2 separate regions of the Homo sapiens genome follow, and region 2 is linked to region 1. Evidence: promoter capture Hi-C in 16 types of primary human blood cells and fetal thymus (Javierre and others, 2016). All regions are on one chromosome and are shown on one strand. Each heading gives the region's core, a stretch centred on a gene start or on the middle of the fragment in contact. The rest is flanking DNA. Distances are from core to core; before and after follow the strand shown.

What was found. The method cuts DNA at HindIII sites, captures the fragments that hold promoters and counts their contacts. A CHiCAGO score of 5 or more calls a contact.
Region 2: a contact is called between a fragment that was not itself captured here and the fragment with the promoter of UBE2D1 in region 1, in 2 of 17 cell types (monocytes and activated CD4 T cells). The highest score is 6.3, in monocytes.

What each region holds. Positions count from the first base shown.
Region 1 is chr10:58,333,390-58,337,165 of GRCh38, reverse strand. UBE2D1 (ubiquitin conjugating enzyme E2 D1) reads right to left here and starts at 2,160. Exons shown (of 7, transcript NM_003338.5): 1 at 1,941-2,160. The coding sequence starts at 1,964. RefSeq lists a silencer at 1,776-2,295 and enhancers at 2,103-2,397, 1,996-2,496. The HindIII fragment of the contact is 6,404 bases long and covers 1-3,589 here.
Region 2 is chr10:58,282,349-58,286,124 of GRCh38, reverse strand. The region is part of intron 2 of CISD1 (CDGSH iron sulfur domain 1); the gene reads right to left. Among named protein-coding and RNA genes, the nearest start is that of CISD1, 15 kb to the right of the region's middle. The HindIII fragment of the contact is 761 bases long and covers 1,627-2,387 here.

The DNA.
Region 1 (3,776 bases), core at 911-3,410:
TTCTATGTAAGTAATTTTTTTTTTTACTCAACAATTCTATAAACTAATAACCAATAAATACTAAAAAGATTTGGACACACGCCATATTATAAATATAAATCAAATACACTAGTTCAGCATGGTGATTGATGAGAACTGCCAAGGGTGGTATTTACAAATAATGTTCATATTTCTTTGAATATCCACTTACTGTGGACAAATTATACAGCTTAAGCTATTGTTAGTTGGGTATGGTGACTTGTGTCTGTAATCCCAGACTTTCTGGAGGCCAGGAGTTCAAGATCAGCATGGGCAATATAGTGAGATCCCCATCTCTTAAAAAAACACAATGAAATTTAAAAAGCTCTTGTATGTGCAAAATCATGTGAAAAATTCTCACAACTAGGAAAGAAGGAAATAGAATTTGAAAACTTCCTTGGAAGATGTGCATTTTCTGATCCAAATGTGAACCAATATTACTTCGTCATTAATAAGTATGCAAGGTATGGTAAAGATGCTAAGGCTTCAAAATTAGGGTATTTATATAAAACAATGTGTAATTGCGCTACCTTCAAACAAGAAAACATTATTACTTAATAAATGCTGATGCTGATTGTTAACTGTATGTTTTACAATGAGATGACCTTTAAATGGCACAAAAAATAACAGGTGATCCACAGATTTAGAATTTGAAAATAAAAAACTGGCAGGCTCTAAAAGTTGCTGTCCTCTGTACCTAAAGATGTCACCAGTGGCGAGTCAGAATGCAATGCGTACGTCACTATCACTGCTCTAACATATACTATTGCTATAATGGACTCCTGGTCAAAAAAGTGGATAAAAATGTGGGCATCAATTTCTTCTGAAACAACTACAAAATACACTGTCCATTGTTGCTTAACTTAGTGAAAAGCACTCCCTATTTAACAAACACATTCTCAATGTTGCCAGTGTGAACTGTAACTGTAAAACCTAAAACTTGGGTCAGTACACAGACCAACAAGAAATAAAAATGAACAGAAAGAAATGCCCGAATCTGAATTCTGAAGGATGTTCGCATCTGAAATGGTGGCAATAAATACTGTGAAAAAAAGACGATTCCATACACAGGGTTGAGATGGGTAAACAGTTGTTGGATGAAGATATATATTTCTTCCTCATTCTATACCCATGTGTCAAAGCATCAAAACAATTTATTTGCGACAGTTTATGTTGTGTCTCGAACTTTACATCTAAGTTTATCATGAGGGGGAAAAAAACCTGTTTGGCTTGACTCACCGTGAATCACAGCCAGGAGGTCATCTTGTTGTGTATCAGCAACTATGTTTTCGCTACAGCTATGTGACCTGAAGTGGCAGCAGCAGAGGCACCAAAATAGAAGGGGCAGGAGCCTTCTCCTGACTTCTTGGCCGCAAATGGGCTTTCCAGCCCATTCGGGCAACTGAGCAAGAGCCAACCGCAGAGGAGAGAAAGAACCAACCCGACAGCTCCGCGGAGAAAGGCTGCAGGCCCACCCCACCTTCCTTGCCCTCCCGGGGAGGCCGGGTAAGCAAGAACATAAAAGAGGACAGGCTTAAGAAACAGCCTGGAGAAAACACAGCATGACAGGGGTCAAAACTAGCCCCATGGAGGGCAAAACCCGGCCGTGACCGTGAAGCACAGATTTCGGGACGGTCTGGACGCGCAAGAGGCTCTCTACCCTGGGGCTCCGGGAGCGGCTCCGGCGCGAACGCGCGCGGGCCCCCAGCCTTCAAGCTCCTCCGGCCGCCTGGGACCTGACCCTGCTCCCACCTCACCTGTCCGATGCCCGCTGGCCCGGCCCGAGCCTTCAGCTCCCTGCCCGCACCCCGGCCCACCCTTCCATCCCTTGCTCTCCCCGCATGTCTCTCGGGACCACTGGCCGAGTCAGCGTGGGCAGGGGGCCGCTGCCCCGCAGCCCCAGGCCCGGCCCCGGCACTCACTTTCTGAATCCTCTTCAGCGCCATGGGTCAGGGATGGCGGTGGGGACACCGGCCGGCAGGGGTCGGCTGCGGGGCTCAGGGGCGTGGGTCGTCGCGGGTTGGGCTCGCTGGCAGCTAGGCTGGCTCCGCGCGGTGGGTCCCCGGTTAGCCGCTCCCTGGCTCGCTCCGGGCGCCGGTCCCTGCTCCGTGTGCGCCCGAGCGCGAGTGTGCGCGAGTGTGCGGGCGGGGACGCCGGCGAGACTCTTTTGTTTCCGCTTTTGCTTCTGGGAAGGAGCCTGCGCCCTCCCCGCCGCGCCCCGCCCCGCCTGGCACACTGGGAAGTGTAGTTCCAGCCCTGTCCTCGGCTGCAGGCCCCCGGACGCTGCCAGGTAACTTACTGCTGACCTCAGCCAGGCAGCTTAAGGTGAGAGCTGCCGGGGGCTGGAATTAGCCTCTACAGTCTCATTTAGAGCAAATTGCTGAACCTGGGGCTGCGCATCTGTAAAATGGGGATAACAAATGAGCTCCTAACGCACATAAAGGAATTTCTAAATCATCAGTTAGTAATTCCTTATCCAATAGGTGCCACAGCTGGTTTTATTATTTTTACCTTTAAAGATTTCACTGTCTTTTCTCAAATATATGGATTGTCTCACTCACCCTGCACACATGCACAAACTCATATCAGACCCCCTACTTACCTCCTTGGTTCTTATTGCAGAGGAAAAAGGTGTCTCTTCTGTCCAATGTGCAAATCTTCCTTGTCTGAGTGCATTGTCTGCTCGTAGGTATGCCCCTCCCATAAATTACCCACTTCGAACACCGAGTTCTGGGCTCTCACTCCCATCATTGGTTCCTTCCCTTCCGTTGACAGTCCCTGACCAATAGTCAACTCACGCTCCCCACTCTCCAATTCCTATGCACTTGTGTACCCATTAAAACTTGGCTTCTTGGCCAAGATGAGATTTGGGTGGGGACACAGCCAAACCATATCACTCAGGGATATAAAGATGGCAACAAATAGACACTGTGGACTACTAGAGAGGGGACCGAGGGAGCAAAGGTTGAAAAACTGTTGGGTACTATTGTCAGTACCTGGGTGATAAAATCATTCATACCACAAATGTCAGCATCACACAGCATACCCAGGTAGCAAACTTGCATATGTGGCCTCTAAATCTAAAATAAAAGTTGAAAAACAAAAACAAACAAACAAAAACAGAATCTTGAGCCCCACTCCAGACATGCTACATCACACTTTGCAGTTTAATAAGACTCCTAGGTGATTCAGATGAACATTAGGGTTTGAGAAGCACTATGCTGGAAGGCATAAGAGGAGATCCTAAAAATGCAGATTTCCTTTAAAGGATTTAATTTAGCAGTAAGTTTTGGGTGAAGCTCTGGAGTCTAAACTTTAGAACAAACTTCCCAGGAAGTTAGGATGCAGGTATCTGAGGACACTTTTGAGAATCTCCACCTTGAGCAAATCTTCAAATCCTTCTAAGCCTCAATTTCCTCACCCATAACTAATGCAATAAATGTTGTATTTGTTTAAAGGGAATAGAGCTGAAACTTTTGGTGCCCTTCTAACTCAAAGGTCTATGATTTGCACAAAAAATGGTGATTTTTTTCTCTTCTTTATAAATAGAAAGAAACCTAAAAAGTAAGCTTACAAGATTATTTTTGTCTTTCCTAGGGCAGTTTACCTCCCAACAAAAGAGAAATTAACACTTATTAAAAAAATCTACGTTGGTATCTTGCAATAATAGTTTACACTTTAAGATTGCTTTAAATGGGCTGGGCACAGTGGCTCACGCGTGTAATTCCAGCACTTTTGGAGGCCAAGGCAGGTGGATC
Region 2 (3,776 bases), core at 758-3,257, 51 kb after region 1:
CACGCCATTCTCCTGCCTCAGACTCCTGAGTAGCTGGGACTACAGGCGCCCGCCACTACGCCCGGCTAATTTTTTGTATTTTTAGTAGAGACGGGGTTTCACCGTGTTAGCCAGGATGGTCTCGATCTCCTGACCTCGTGATCCGCCTGCCTCGGCCTCCCAAAGTGCTGGGATTACAGGTGTGAGCCACCGCGCCCAGCCTGTTAACTTTATTAAACTTTATCACTTTATTCCTCCAGATAAGCTTGAGAATGTTTTTTGCCAAGTTTTAATTTCTTTTGTAGTTTTCATCCTCAGATCTCATGTATATTCTGGTAAGATTATTTCTGTCATATTTTTAATCACTATTATAATTTATTTTCATATCTGAACATTCTTGCTATATAAAATCATTTTTAACAAGTATATCCTCTATTGTAAAATGAAAAAATAAGAATTTAATAATATTTCACTTAACTCTTCAGGATTTTACACTTAGAAGGAATAATTATCAGTAATTTTTTTGTTTCTCTATATTTGTATCTTTTATTTCTATTTCATGTCAAATGACAAGAGCTAGCATCTTTGCCTTAATCTTGGTGTTTTGAATGTATCTACACTCTAGAATCTAGAGTTTCACTGTTTAGTCTAAGGTACACTGTTGCTTTGAAGAAGCCTATTTAGAAGAGTAAAGTAAGAGGATTCTTAGCCTTATGAGTAACAAGTACCTCATTACGTGCAGTGAAGGGAGCATAACAGATCAGTGAAACTTCACAATGATGGTATTTAATCTTAAACTTTGATATCCAAAAGGCTACTTAATGTTAAAGTAATCAAATTTTAATCTATCTGTAAATAATTGCAAGAGGCACTAAATTAGCTAAAAATTACAGAAAAACTCAAGGTATTGGCATATCTTATATTTCCAGATATAAATTCTATCCTGTCGTAGAGGGCAGTGTAAATGTAATATATGTAAAGTTTATATTATTTCTTTTTTTGAGGTCAATAAGATGTGGTACACAGTATATTCATATTAGAAACAAGCCTTGATGCAAAAACATAAAGTCAAGCTTTCAGTTTTTTCTTGGCATGGATGAGGAAAGAGGCGATAAAAATTAAACTAAAATGTATCCCACAGCAAAGTACAGCATTTCAAAGTGACATATGTTTAATAAACAAACACAGATGATTTTACAGTGAGCATAAAAGTTTACATTGTAAAGACTCTTTTTATAAATAGCACACACAAAACACTTCACTATAAATTAAATCCATGCAGGCAACATTTCTGAAAAATGAAATATTTCTAAATAACTTACTGAAATGGCATGTTTAACTTTTATTTTTTAATCTTATGTTGAAAATATTAGAAACTAACATTTTCTCAAATTATTTTCCTCCATATACAGAATAGGAGAGAAATCTATAGAAAAAATATACAAAGAAAATCTTACAAAATATAAAGAAAGTCATATATCAAAAGTGAGAATACATTTTTTCTCATCACCCAATTCTGCCTAAAAACTGAAATTAGCCTGTTTCTTCATATTCTTAAAAGCAAACACATATTTCTTTAAAAAGCAATGAGTAGTTTATCCTGGTTATTTGTTAATAAACTTTCATGCGATTAAAGTGTATAAAGCTTTTATGCCTTTATAATGCAAACTAGGTGTTAAAAATAATTTTGTGCAGAGACGTATTTTTTAATAGTACTTTTTATATCACTTAACCCTAGGAATTACTGCCTTATGTGTCTTGCTTTATTTCTGATCTATGCAGGAGAAAGATAATATGTGGTGGGTATACAGTTTTTTTTTTTTTTAAGAGATTAAATTAGATTGCACAGTGGTGCAATCGCAGCTTACTGAAGCCTCAATCTCCCAGGCTCAAGGGATCCTTCCATCTCAGCCTCCTGAGTAGCTAGGACTATAGGTGCATGCCATCACACTCAACTAATTTCTGCATTTTTTTGTGGAGACAAGGTTTCACTACATTGGCTGTTACATTCTCAAAGTGTTGGAATTACAGGCCTAAGCGACTGTGTCTGGCATTATATACTTTCAAATACAATGTAGGAAGTACAGTAATTTTTACATTAAATAATGTACAAAAATATGAGAATTTTATTAACTTTTTCATTAAACATTTTGAAATTTGTTAAATTGTTTTAAATTATGAAAAAAACACAAAGAATATTAAATTCAGTTCGTGTAGTATTGATACTTAATTTATTCTAAGATGTCAGCGTTTGTTTATTAACAAATCCTGGAAAAAGTCTGTAAATCAAATTTCCTTTATGTCCAGAAAACATCCTTTTATGTTTGTTAACCCAATTTGAACACTACAAATCCCAAATATCTTTAAAAGTGGGGGAAGAAAGGGTTAGAAGAAGTTGGAATAAAGCTTTAGTAGAAAAAACAGTGGAGGTCCTTGCTCTCCACCTGGAAAGCTAGCAATGCTATATGGATCTTCATAAAAACACAACATTTCTTTTTAATGGCCCCACATCTCAAGTTATGCCTCTGTTTTAATAAATGCTCCTCTTTGACTTATCTCTTCCACCTGAAACAATTTTCTTTTAAAGACTATCTTCCTTCTCTGAACTTCGTACTTTGTATTAGAGTTTTGATTTTCTGTCCCAAGGAAGTTGCCTGGCACCATTTTGGCTCATTACCATAAACTGTCCAGAAAAATATGCTTGCTTTGGTTGAGAACGAAAACGAAGTAATGAGATTTTTGAGACTAACCTAGAGATTATGACATTTTATACCATTCTTATGTACCTATTTCAATAAACCTAAGACAGTAGCTATAATATGAAAATGTACAAAGATAAATTAAGATTTTTATAAGACTGTCTTTATGTGGATTGGCCAAGGAATGTCACCAACATTCAGAATATCGTTTTTATGAAGAAAGACTCAGTAAAATGCACTTCTAAGCCATTAACAGGATGGAGGATTTCTCTTTTTCCCCCAACACCCTCCCGCCAAAAAAAAACACCCAGGATCAAGCCTACTACCAACGACAAAACAAAAGTATCATTAACTCAAATCTTACCCTGTAAATGAAAGAAAATGAGTCTAAACATGTCCAGTTGCATTTCATTTCAATTTCAGTTCAGCTCCTGATGTTAACTGGTAAGACTTTCCTCTCTTTCTTCTTAGTCTGTATTCTTTTGCTGTCCTTGTTTGAACTGCCTCCTAGGTGGCCGTCATACAACTCAGCAAGTGATGTAACCAACCTGAAGTTGCAGGGAAAGGAACCTAGCAATACTACATCCCATACCCTTCCCTCTTACATCAGAGTCCTTTCATCTTCTTGTTTCGAAAGTAAGACTATCTCTTCCTTTTTAAGGCTGAGTTTCACATCTGTGCTGTTACTCTCATTTCCTTCCACCCTTTGTCAAGATACCGCTGACTCAAATAGTATCTTTCCCTGTAGTCACTTTAATCATTTCCTCTATACTGGCTCCTTTCATTCTCACTTCAAATATGGATAGCCCTTTTGTGAAATACAATTGGCCCCATCTGTATCTGTGGGTTCCACATCCATGGATGCAACCAACTGCTGATAGAAAATACTCGCTAAAATAATTGTATGGGTACTGAGCATGTACACTTTTTTCCTTGTCATTATTCTCTAAACAATACAGTATAACAACTATTTACATAGCATTCACACTGTATTAGGTATTATTTGCAATCAAGAGATGACGTAATAATTTAAAGTATACAGGATTATGTGCATAGCTTATAGGCAAATACTGTCATTTTAAATCAGGGGCTTGAGCA